2 separate regions of the Homo sapiens genome follow, and region 1 is linked to region 2. The links are contacts of gene promoters, found by promoter capture Hi-C in blood cells and fetal thymus (Javierre and others, 2016). All regions are on one chromosome and are shown on one strand. Each heading gives the region's core, a stretch centred on a gene start or on the middle of the fragment in contact. The rest is flanking DNA. Distances are from core to core; before and after follow the strand shown. Region 1 has its middle 91 kb from the start of ZFP64. Region 2 holds the start of CYP24A1 (cytochrome P450 family 24 subfamily A member 1).

Region 1 (6,580 bases), core at 3,440-5,939, 2.1 Mb after region 2:
CTTAGGCTGCCAGCTCCCCGTGGTTAGCTGATACCTTTCCTTTAAGGGGCTGAGGAAAGGAGTTGTAACTGGACTTCCTCTTCTCCCCCGCTCTTTCCGGGCGCGGAAAGGAGGATGGGTCCCCTCTCCGGGGCGGCTCACCCCTCCAGAGCCGCGGGCTCTCCAGCTTCCGCATCAACTTCCACCACAGTCGGTCTGGTGGGTTTTGACCACAACTTCCCGAGGTGGTGGTGGAGGGGAGTAGTTTAATGAAGCCTCCACTAAACGAATAGCTTATATGTTAAAATAAAGCTTGCTCGAGTGGAGCTACCATAACCAGGATAGTACAACCACCCTCGTGCCCGAGGCCTGGGATGGAGATAGGCAGGTGAGACTTACAGGATCCCGTCCCCTGGGTCGAGGGGCGGGGCTCTTGCTGATCTCTGCGCCTCGGGGAAGTTGGGGAGGTACTGGGGATGCTGAGTCTTTTGGGGGAGGTGTTTATAGAAGAGAATTGCTGAGTAACCCCAGGCTGGAGTTGAAAGTCTGTGCACTGAGCTACTTTGGATTCCTGCAGCCAGCGCTGCGAGGCGCCTTCTGGAGCCGCACCCAGTGTTTCGGGCATGGGGAGGGTGTCGTGCGTCCTGGAGTACTGAGGTGACTTCTGTGGGAGCAGGACGCAAACTCTGCCGGCCCAGTAGTGTGCCTCAACCCCAGCCACCACTTCGGAGAAAAAACCGTCTTCCAACTGACGTTTTATCCTAGTACCTTTGGTCTGCGACACTGGCAAGGGGGTACATTTTTTACGAAGGTTGGGCCACTCTTAATTTGCAAGTGTCTTTGCAACTCAAGTAGCTTTTGGAGGAAAATAAAATGGAAAGTAATTAGTGGACTTCCTGTCACCACCAGTAAAATGACGAAGGGGCTGGAGGAACCTTACTGAGGGAACATCATCCGTTTCCCCAGGAGTTAAAACCCTCGCCATGCTAACCTGGTTTCTAATAGTCAAATGCGGCCCACCCCCACTTCCAGAGGCAGAGGGTCTCCCCCAGCTGCACCTTTCCCAGGAGAGTGGGCTTCAGGCCTTCTTTGGTTTCCTGGGTGTCTAAACGTAAAAGAAATCGGAGGCCCCTCACACCTCCCCATCAGAGGCTCTATCTGGGTCATCCTTTAACCCACCTCTCTCTCACTTTTCTAGTTTGCGTTGAAAACATGCATCTTTCTCCCCCTGAGAATCTGGTAGAATCTTACGTGTGTATATCAGTGAATAACACTAATAGCATTTATACAGTATTGACTAATACATGAGGTTCTCTTACATATACTAAAGAACTTCATCTAAGCTAATGAGACGGCCATAATACCCATTTCACAGATGTGGAAACTGAGGAACGGGGAAGTTGAGTAGCTTATCCAGTGGGACACAGCTAATGGTAAAACTGGAATTGAAACTTATCAGCTGGTTTCCCAGTCTGTTCCCCAAACCACTGTGTTATACAGTGCCTCACTTAGATTTGTTTTCAGTCTTGCTTGACTTCTGTGGAATTAAAACCCTCAAGAGTTTAATGGTTTTCTCTTCTAGTATGTGAGTTGCTATGTAATGAGGCTTTGTTTGTGTCTGTCCCTGAGGGACATAGGATGGGTTGCAGATCTGGCAAGTGTGGGTTCCAATGAGCTGAAAACTTCCAGTCCTGCAACCTTGAGCATCTGAGCCAGTTTCTTGCTCACAGAGCAAGAGACTCAAAAGTATGGTTCCCAGACCAGCATCGGCATCAACTGGGAACTTGTTAGAAGTGAAAAATCGCAGGCTCCACCCCATACCTACTCAATCAGGAACTCCAAATGGGAGCCCCTGCCACCTGTGTTTTAAGTAGCCTTCTAGGCAATTCTGATACACGCTGACGTCTGAGAACCACTGGCTGTGAGCTGTGCTTCTCAAATTGTAATGTGCTGTGCTCAGGAATCACCTGGGGATCTGGCTAAAGTACAGATTGGTTCTGTAAGTCTGGAGTAGGGCCTGAGACTGCTGCCTTTTTTTTTTTTTTTTTTGGAGATGGAGTTACTCTCACCAGGCTGGAGTGCAGTGGCACGATCTGGGCTCACTGCAACCTCTGCCCCACAGGTTCAAGCGATTCTCCTGCCTCAGTCTCCTGAGTAGCTGGGATTACAGGCACATGCCACCACACCTGGCTAATTTTTTTTTTTTTTTTTTTTTTGGTATTTTTAGTAGAGACAGGTTTCACTGTGTTAGCCAGGATGGGACGCCTGCCTCAGCCTCCCAAAATGCTAGGATTACAGGCATGAGCCACGGCACCCGGCTGAGACTCTGCATTTTTAACAAGCTCTCAGGTGATGCTGGTGCTCTAGGGACCACCCTTTGAGTAGCAAGGACTTACAAGTAATACAGCAGAATCATCTGGCAAGTGCTTCAAAAATGCAAGGCCCTGAGGTCAGGTGTGGTGGCTCATGCCTGTAATCCCAGCACTTTTGAGTGGTTAAGGTGGGCAGATTGCTCGAGCTCAGGAGTTTGAGACCAGCATGGGCAACATGGCAAAACCCTGTCTCTATAAAAACAAAACTACAAAAAATACAAAACTACAAAAAAATACAAAAATACAAAAACTAGGCATGTGGTGGTGCATGCCTGTGGTCCCAGCTATTCGGGAGGCTGAGGTAGGAGGATGGCTTGAGCCTGGAAGGCGGAGTTTGCAGTGAGCCATGTTGGTGCCACTGCACTCCAGCCTGGGTGACAGCGAGACCTTGTCTCAAAAAAAAATCGCAAGTCCCTGGAATCGCAAGTCCTTACTTGATCCACACTACCACCCCTCCTCCTGCCCCTAAGTTTTCAGTGAGTATAGGGTAAGGCCTGGGAAACTACACTGAACCCATGATCTAGGTGATTGTGACACAGATAGTATCAGGATTACACTTGGAAGAAACATTGGGAGTAGGACTACTGCAGACTTTCTCAACCCCAGCCCTATTGACCTTTGGGGCTGCATCGTTTCCTTGTGGGGGCTGTCCTATGCCCTATAGGATGTCTAGCAGCATCCCTGGCCTTCACCCACTAGATGCCATTCTCAAACATGCATGCAAACAGAATCATGACAATTGAAAATGTTCCCAGGCATTGCTGAGTGTCCTTTGGTGGTAGAATGGCCCCCAGTTGAGAGCCACTGGACTAGATCACTTGTTAAGGGGCTTCGAGCACAACTGCTAGGATGTGAAATCTGTAGTCCTCACTTGCGACATCTGAAGCCACGCAATTGTATTTACTCAGATGACACTGTACTGAGAACTTATATATTTTTTCATCTTGTTTAACTCTGCAACTCTGAGGCATGTAATCTCCTTTTGCAAACGAGTAAACTGAAGCTCAGAAAGGTTAAGTAGCTTGCCAATAGTTGCACAGCACATAGCTGAGCAAACCCTCTGCCTAAAACTGAAGCCCTCACCACTGTGCTCTACAGCCTCTCATGCTAAGATTCCTTCACCCGCACAAACTTCTCAATAAAAGTGATAATCCACCTTTTGTAATAACCTTAGGACAGAGAAAGTCCCAGACCTTGGCCTATAATTCATAAGCTAGTCAATCTTCTAAGACTTTAGATGGCTGTACACAGTGGCTCGTGGCTATAGTCCCAGCACTTTGGGAGGCTGAGATGGGCGGATCACTTGAGGTCAGGAGTTCAAGACCAACTTGGCCAACATGGTGAAACCCTGTCTCTACTAAAAATACAAAAATTAGGCAGGCGTGGTGGCGCACGTCTGTAATCCCAGCTACCTGGGAGTCTGAGGCAGGAGAATCGCTTGAACCCAGGAGGCAGAGGTTGCAGTGAGCTGAGATGGTACCACTGCACTCCAGTCTGGGCGACAGAGTGAGACTCTGTTTCAAAAAAAAAAACTTTGGGAGGCCGAGGTGGGTGGATCACAAGGTCAGGAGATCGAGACCATCCTGGCTAACACAGTGGAACCCCATCTCTACTGAAAATACAAAAAATTAGCCGGGCATGGTGGTGGGTGCCTGTAGTCCCCGTTGGGAGACTGAAGCAGGAGAATGGCGTGAACCCGGGAGGCGGAATTTGCAGTGAGCCAAGATCACACCACTGCAATCCAGCCTGGGTGACAGAGCGAGACTCCGTCTCAAAAAAAGAAAAAACTTCAGACCTTGATGGGACCTTTTTTCCTTTTAGATTTAAGTCTATTTTGAGATATTTCAGAATCTTCTAGTACTTAATCTTTGCTGTAGGAATCTTAAAACCTACATATTAGATTGAAACATGAAATTATTTGACCGTTTTGGCTAACAAAAATAGCGATTTCACCTAGTTCAACCTTCCTAAAAATAGACTATAGTGAATTCTCATCCATTGATCCACTTCAACCATTAATTGCATGTGGTCAATCTCATTTCTCCTTATGCCAGCTCTCTCCCTGCCCTGGATTATTTTTGAAGACAAATTCACATATCATACAACTTGTAAATGTTTCAACATTCATCCTTAGACTATGGGGAATGCTCTTTAAACTCTAATTCCATTTTCACACCAAAGTATAAAACCCCTGTAGCAAACTTGCAGTGAGTGAGCACACTTCTTACCATCTCAGCTTTTCCAGCATATTCTAATCAGGAGCCAAGTAAAGTCCCGATATTGTCGACCACCTCAAGTCTCTCAGTCTTTGCTTTTTCTCCTCTTCCATCTTTCTTCTTTCAAGTTATTTGTTGAAACAACTGTTTTATCCTGGAGATCAGTGATGTGTGGTCTGTGACCTTTTGCTGAACTGAGGCAAAACAAATCAGAAATCCAGAGTAAGCATCTTAAAAAAAAAAAAAAAAGTTTGACATTGCCATGGCATCCAGCTTTTTGCTGTATCTAATGATTGGGCTCTTTTTATCTTATTCCACCTCTCCCCTAATTCTTGTTTATCATATTTTACAGAAATATCAGCCTGGGATGGATTAGAAATTGTTAGAAAAAACTAGGTCTTCATGCCATTTAAGAAGTACTCATATGTTTTTTAGTTTAGATTTTGCCAGTTTCCCTGTTATGTGACAGTGTCCTGTCCCCTGTACTTCTTGGAAACCGTAGTAAGGGGAAGAGGACTTTTGCAAGACAGAGCATACATGGCTTGCTTTTTTTTTTTTTTTTTGGTAAAGACAGAGTCTTGCTCTGTTGCCCAGGCTGGAGTGCAGTGGCATGATCTCGGCTCACTGCAACCTCTGCCTCCCAGGTTCCAGCGATTCTCCTGCCTCAGCCTCCCGAGTAGCTGGGACTACAGGCACATACCACCATGCCTGGCTGATTCTTGTATTTTTAGTAGAGACAGGGTTTCACCATATTGGCCAGGCTGGTCTCGAACTCCTGAACTCGTGCTCCACCAACCTCAGCCTCCCAAAGTGCTGGGATTACAGGCATGAGCCACCCCGCCTGGTCACATGGCTTTCATTTTTTTTAAATTTTTTCTGGAAAGGTGAAGGGAGGTGAAATAAGCCCAAACCTACTGTATTCTAAGACTTAGCATGGTGGTTATAAATGAGAAACTAAGCAAAACTATGCCTCAATTTCAGCTTCAGAACTTGATGATGATGTTCCAAAAGCAAACTGCCTCTCCACTGAAAGCACTGACACTCCGAAGGCCCCTGTCATCACTCTTCCCTCAGAGGCAAGGGAACAAATGGCCACCCTTGGAGAGAGGACGTTCAACTGTTGCTACCCAGGTAAGAGTAAAACCCTGCGTGCTGAGCCGCTTCTGAGCCAAGCACTGATCTGCAAGCCCTACGTGAATCTCTGAGCTGCCTGCTCATGTTACTCTTGTTTGCTGACAACATGCCAGTATCTACATCAGCACACAACAGCCTTCCCTGGGGGGCCTAAGAGGCCTGTAGCATCCAGAGCTCAGCGTGGGACTCACCAGAACATTGGATTCATAGTAGCTTCCACCCTGAGGTTATACATATATGGACTCTTTTTTTTTTTTTTTTTGGAGACAGTTTCACTCTTGTTGCCCAGGCTGGAGTGCAATGGTGTGATCTCGGCTCACTGCAACCTCCGCCTCTCAGGTTCTAGCAATTCTCCTGCCTCAGCATCCCAAGACAAGGTCTTGCTCTGTTAAGGCTGGAGTATAGTGGTGTGATCATAACTCACTGCAGCCTCCAACTCACTGGGTGCATGTGATCTTCCCTCATCCGCCCCCTGAGTAGTTGGGACTACAGGCATGCACCACCATGTCTGGCTAATTTTTTTTTTTAAATAGGGGGCGGGGGTCTCTACGTTACCCAGGCTGGTCTCAAACTTCTGGCCTCCAGTGATCCTCCCACCTTGGTCTCCCAAGCTCGGGGATGGCAGGTGTGGGCCACCACACTCAACTGAGGTTCTTCTAAGAATTGTATTCTTCAGGCCAGGCATGGTGGCTCACACCTGTAATCCCAGCACTTTGGGAAGCCGGGGCGGGCAGATCACCTGAGTTCAGGAGTTTGAGACCAGACCAGCCTGGCCAACATGGTGAAACCCCATCTCTATCAAAAATACAAAAATTAGCCAGGCGTGGTGGCAGGCGCCTGTAATCCCAGCTACTCAGGAGGCTGAAACAGGGTAATCTC
Region 2 (6,498 bases), core at 3,974-6,473:
ATGAGGACAAGGAAACAATGGTAATATGTAACAGGGCAGATTCAACCCAGGTCTGGCTTAAACTCTGTAAGAAAGTGAGGTTTTGTCATTATAAAATGGAAAATAACAAAACCTACCTTACAGCGCTATTGTGTGGGTGGAGACAATACAATGTCTGCCACACACATAGTAGTTCCTTAATAAGTTATAATTTGTAGTAATGGTGGAATGATTGAGTGTGCATACTGTATTTCTCATCTCCTTTGCAATAAAGCAGCTCTTTCAGTGATAAATCTGTTGAAAAGTTCCCCCCACCCCGCCCCACCCGGAACTGCATTTTAAAGCACTTAAGGTCCATTTTTCCATACCTGTGATATAACTTTAATTTACCAACATGACTGAATTCTACTCAGAAATTATCAAGCAAGTACAGAGGCCAAACAGATTTTAGTGAAGACAATCGTGTTTTGTCTAATATTTTTAGTATTTATCTTGACCTTCCTGAGACACAGGTATAGTAAACTCCAATTTTACCATTAAGGAAACTAGACTCAGAGAAGTTAAATAACTTGCCCAAGATCACACAGCTAATGAGTGGTGGAGCCATGGTTTCAGCCCAAGCTTTTGAGACCAAAACTATCGTTTTTGTCATACAGAACTATTTTCTATATGACCCACACATAAAGCCCTCCAGGATTCCCAACGATTTCCTCAGAAAACAAAGAATACATTGATACTAACCTTTCTCCTTTTCACTTGGGAATGAGGAAATAATCAATAATCAATTTCCCATTATTTGCTTATTGGGTGCTGGCCAACATAAACAGCACTGTGTCATCTGCTTTAGGAGAAACAAAAACAAAGACAAAAAAACAATGCCTATAATTTCAAGAAGGTTTGTCTAATTGGGCAAAGAACTCCAAGACACATGTAATAAAGATTATGACCTTAATTATTTGACAGCCCAGTTCCTGTAGTTCTTAATGACATTAACAGTGAGCACATGTGCTAGGGACTTTCAGTGCTTTGTCATCCTCAGAAAAACCCTATGGAGTGGGAACTACTACCATGATCACCATTTTTTTTTTTTTTTTGAGATGGAGTCTCACTCTGTCGCCCAGACTAGAGTGCAGTGGCGCTATCTCGGCTCACTGCAACCTCGACCTCCCAGGTTCAAGTGATTCTCCTGCTTCAGCCTACCAAGCAGCTGGAATTACAGGCACCCACCACCATGCCCAGCTAATTTTTGTATTTTTAGTAGAGACAGGAGTTTGCCATGTTGGCCAGGTTGGTCTCGAACTCTGACCTCAGGTGATCCGCCTGCCTTGGCCTCCCAAAGTGCTGGGATTACAGGTGTGAGCCACTGCACCCGTCCTGATCGCCACTTTTGAGAAGAGGAAACTAAGGCTGAGAGAGAGACAAGTAAATTGTCCCTGGTTTTTCTAGCTGCTCAGTGGCTGAGCTGGGATTTGAATTCACCAGCATTTCATTGCTAATCTTCCTTTGGCTTTATTCAAGTATACAGTTTCTTGAGTCAGAGACATCTAAATTGCCTCCCTTCTATGGACTTTGAAAAAACCAAGGCATGCAATACAGTAATGCTACAAGGTCATATTTGCTGGGCACTTTACTGTGGTAGGAATTTTATTTGCAGTGTTCTCACAGGAGCCCCGTGAAATTGGCTATTGTTACTACTCCTGTTTCCATGAAGCTTGAACTTTACCGTGAGGTTGGAACCAACACTGTCCATTTAACAAATGCGGCAAGTAAGTCCTCCAGGTTTCCGCAACGGAAAGTGGATCTAGTACTCACGCCCCAGTTTAGGCAAAGTTTGTTGTGTTTGTTTTTTTGAGATGGAGTCTTGCTCTGTCGCCCAGGATGGAGTGCAGTGGCATGATCTCAGCTCACTGCAACCTTCACCTCCCGGGTTCAAGCAATCCTCCTGCCTTAGCCTCCCGTGTAGCTGGGATTACAGGCATCTGCCACAACATCTGGCTAATTTTTGTATTTTTTAGTAGAGATAGGGTTTCACCATGTTGGCCAGGCTGGTCTTGAACTCCTGACCTCAAGTGATCTGCCTGCCTCACCCTTCCAAATTGCTGGAATTACAGGCGTGAGCCATCATGCCAGGCCTAAGCAGTTTTAAGCACAAAACTATATTACTATTGCATATACTTGAAAGTGTTTTGTATTTTCCAGTGCAGAGAAACCAGCCCTTGAACTCCTACAGGCTCCTCCACCCCACCCTCATTATACATGTGTACACAGGTGTGTGAACTCACACACACATGTTGTCATGGGTGGTCCCTTGGTATGAGGGCTGAAGTCTAATTATCCATTCCAGGACTTGGTAAGATTTCCCAGAGCAAAACAGAGGGCCTGAGCCTGTCTCAGTAATGATGGCAGGCATTTATGAGGCATTTCAAGATCTCTCATTAGTAATTCCTGACAAGATCCCTATCCGGATGACTCATAGAGGCTAAGTAGTGAGTGAAGGATGAGGACAGATGAGGAATAGTGAATTCCTGGAAGCGGGATCAAAAATAGTCATTTTGAATTTAATCATACTTCTCAAGGACAGGTATGTATTGGGGTCAATGAAGTTTCAAAGAACTAGTCTTGCTTTCCTCTGCAATCCGGTCTAAAAATTACTGGGGATTTTCTCCACTGAACATGAGAAACCAATATCCCTGAAACAGGAATTTTCTTTTTAGCTATCATGTAACTAATGATTGCCCATATATTTAAATATCTATTTAGAGTATATAAAGCTATATAGCATGAAACTCTTAGAAAAACCTAGCAAGTCTGAAATTATTTCCTCTTCTCCTTGTGCATATCTGCCAAAAGAGAAGGAAAAGAAAGAATAATTGGGAAAATTACTCAATAGTTGAAATAACAATAGACCATTCACTGTGTCCAAGCACCTCACCAGAATCAAGGTACTCAGTAGTGAAAAACATAGACCTTCTGTTTAGAGCTATTTTTTTTTTTTTTTTTTTGACAGAGTCTTACTCTGTCGCCCAGGCTGGAGTGCAGTGGGGCGATCTCGGCTCACTGTAACCTCCGCCTCCCGAGTTCAAGCGATTCTCCTGCCTCAGCCTCCTGAGTAGCTGGGATTACAGGCATGCACCACCACACCCGGCTAATTTTTGTATTTTTGGTAGAGATGGGCTTTCACCATGTTGGCCAGGCTGGTCTCGAACTCCCAACCTCAGGTGATCCGCCCACCTCGGCCTCCCAAAGTGCTGGGATTACAGGCGTGAGCCACTACACTCAGCCAGAGCTATTCTTTTTCACCACCGTCAGCACATAAAACGTTTGCCTCACACTGCCCCACACATACTGACATGGTAGGCATTCTGATCCCCCCCACTTTCCTCTTGGTGATAATTCTCATTTAAGAAATACTTCCAATATTCTGAGACACTCTGGTTTAAGAAAAAGTGACATAACATAGCATGATGTATATGGGTGTACTATTTAGGGCCCAGCCTAGAATCAGAAAATATTGGGTCTGAATCCCACCTGAGCCAATGGTAACGTCTGTGACATTGGGCAAATTACTTAGCTCTGTAAGAGTCAAGGGTTTTTTTGTTTGTCTTTGATTTTTTTTTGTTTTTTATTTTATTTCATTTTATTGACATTGGGCTGAGATGAGAACTAAACGGAAAAAATGATGTAAAATGTCTAGCTCAGTGCCTGACTTATCATAAGCCCTAGAAAGCTTTCATGAGAATATTATATAACATATGGAATCTACATACTGTATGCAATCTATACTATATTATGTATATTTAGTGTGTATTGCATATAACATAATCTATAGTGTATGCTGTAACATATATACCATACAATGTATATATAAATATGTACAAGATTCATAAAGTTTAGTATATATCAATAGCTATTATTTTTATTAACATAAACAGTCATTAGCCCCTCCAGACAAATCAGAAATGATGGTGTTAAAGCTTAAGTTGGACTGCAAAAGATTTTTAAGAAACAAACTAGAGGCTTACAAAAGAATTTACCAGGGAAGGATTTGCCAACACTTGGGGCAAAAATGACTGAGACACGTAATTGAAAAGCAGGGCGAGGAAACAGAATGTCCCTCCCCTCCTCCCTGGCTGGTGGTAGTTTTGTATTGGATCAGGTTGAAAGGATTCGAGCCACTTTAAAACAATCAACAAAAATCTCCAACTTCCGTTCCTGAATTAGCAAAGCGAGTTCTACTCTTGCCAGCCGCGGTAACTCTAGAAATTGTGTATGTTTGTCACTGGACCTGCCTAGGACGCACCTTGGGGGAGAGGGGGAGTACTGGGGGCGGTGGTTTCAAGCTCTGTGTGCCCCTCCTTTGCACAAGGTAGTCGGTGTAGAAGAACAGAGGCGGGCAGTGGACATAGGGGAGGTGGCCCAGCCTGAATTCAAGCATCGTTGGTGCAAGCCACGCTCTCAAGGCGCATTTCCTAACTTCCTAAAGAAGTAACAACAGCAACTAACTTTTATTGACTGTTGACTATAGACAAGGCTTCGTTGTTGCCGCTTTACGTGCATTAATTCATTTAATCTGCAAAACAACCAAACATGAAACAGCAGGAAGGAAATTCTACAAACTCCCCTTCTTGCTCAAGTTAAGAAAGTCTCCTCTTCTGGTGCATTTCAGTAAGACTCAAATCCTCCCCACCCTGGGAGGCGCAGAAAGCCAAACTTCCTCCAAAAAAAAAAAGGCAAAAAAAAAAAAAAAATCACTTCAGTCCAGGCTGGGGGTATCTGGCTCCCCGGGAGGCGCCCGGGCTCCCCGGGGCCCTGGCAGACGCCGGCAGCTTTTCTGGGCCCGCACTCGGGGACCTCGCCCGCCCGGCATCGCGATTGTGCAAGCGCCGGGCGGCAACCACGGCCGCCGCTGCCGGCTCCTGCCCGCCGGGGGAGGGCGGGGAGGCGCGTTCGAAGCACACCCGGTGAACTCCGGGCTTCGCATGACTTCCTGGGGGTTATCTCCGGGGTGGAGTCTGCCGCCCCCACCCCACCTCCCGCGCCCAGCGAACATAGCCCCGGTCACCCCAGGCCCGGACGCCCTCGCTCACCTCGCTGACTCCATCCTCCTTCCACCCCCCCTCCCCTGGGTCCCGCGTCCCTCGGAGTCTGGCCAGCCGGGGGCCACTCCGCCCTCCTCTGCGTGCTCATTGGCCACCCAGGGCATGCTCTGTCTCCATAAATGCATGGTCCCTGGGCATAGGAACATGGAGAGGGACAGGAGGAAACGCAGCGCCAGCAGCATCTCATCTACCCTCCTTGACACCTCCCCGTGGCTCCAGCCAGACCCTAGAGGTCAGCCTTGCGGACCAACAGGAGGACTCCCAGCTTTCCCTTTTCAAGAGGTCCCCAGACACCGGCCACCCTCTTCCAGCCCCTGCGGCCAGTGCAAGGAGGCACCAATGCTCTGAGGCTGTCGCGTGGTGCAGCGTCGAGCATCCTCGCCGAGGTCCTTTCTGCTGCCTGTCCCGCCTCACCCCGCTCCATCACACCAGCTGGCCCTCTTTGCTTCCTTTTCCCAGAATCGTTAAGCCCCGACTCCCACTAGCACCTCGTACCAACCTCGCCCCACCCCATCCTCCTGCCTTCCCGCGCTCCGGTGTCCCCCGCTGCCATGAGCTCCCCCATCAGCAAGAGCCGCTCGCTTGCCGCCTTCCTGCAGCAGCTGCGCAGTCCGAGGCAGCCCCCGAGACTGGTGACATCTACGGCGTACACGTCCCCTCAGCCGCGAGAGGTGCCAGTCTGCCCGCTGACAGCTGGTGGCGAGACTCAGAACGCGGCCGCCCTGCCGGGCCCCACCAGCTGGCCACTGCTGGGCAGCCTGCTGCAGATTCTCTGGAAAGGGGGTCTCAAGAAACAGCACGACACCCTGGTAAACCCCTTTTCGCGCCCCTGACTCTCTCCTCCCTCTTCCGCCCTCCCAGTGGCGCTCCAAACCCTCCCCGACATGCGCGCCTCGGGCGCATGGTGCGCTTCGGCGTCTGGGCAGGGAGGGTCCCCGGTCCCCTAGGAGGAAGGAGGCGGGAGGAGGGAAAGCGCTTCGGGCACGGCGGAGGATGCGCGCTGACACCGCGCTGTGCCCGGCCGGCTGCAGGTGGAGTACCACAAGAAGTATGGCAAGATTTTCCGCATGAAGTTGGGTTCCTTTGAGTCGGTGCACCTGGGCTCGCCATGCCTGCTGGAAGCGCTGTACCGCACCGAGAGCGCGTACCCGCAGCGGCTGGAGATCAAACCGTGGAAGGCCTATCGCGACTACCGCAAAGAAGGCTACGGGCTGCTGATCCTGTGAGTCCAATCCGAGGGACCTGGGCATGCGGCCAGACCTGATGAGCCTGACGGCGCCTGGAAATTGTGAAGAGGCGGAGTTAGAGTTCCCTGGGGTTGGAAGCTTCTTACGTAGGGCGGATACCAAAGCCCCTCTCCCGTGCCATCGCAACCCTGAGCTCTTGTACAGATTAGAGTCGGTCCACGGAAAAGCCGTGC

Evidence for each region. The method cuts DNA at HindIII sites, captures the fragments that hold promoters and counts their contacts. A CHiCAGO score of 5 or more calls a contact.
Region 1: a fragment that was not itself captured here is called in contact with the fragment with the promoter of CYP24A1 in region 2 in 1 of 17 cell types (naive CD4 T cells); the score reaches 5.9 in naive CD4 T cells.

The regions. Positions count from the first base shown.
Region 1 is chr20:52,097,556-52,104,135 of GRCh38, reverse strand. It overlaps a transcript of ZFP64 not described here. Among named protein-coding and RNA genes, the nearest start is that of ZFP64, 91 kb to the left of the region's middle. The HindIII fragment of the contact is 8,792 bases long and covers 294-6,580 here.
Region 2 is chr20:54,172,711-54,179,208 of GRCh38, reverse strand. CYP24A1 (cytochrome P450 family 24 subfamily A member 1) reads left to right here and starts at 5,223. Exons shown (of 12, transcript NM_000782.5): 1 at 5,223-5,887; 2 at 6,110-6,300. The coding sequence starts at 5,630. It overlaps LOC105372675 (a long non-coding RNA gene), which reads right to left and starts at 915. Exons shown (of 4, transcript XR_936882.4): 1 at 721-915. RefSeq lists an enhancer at 5,000-5,593. The HindIII fragment of the contact is 2,450 bases long and covers 3,956-6,405 here.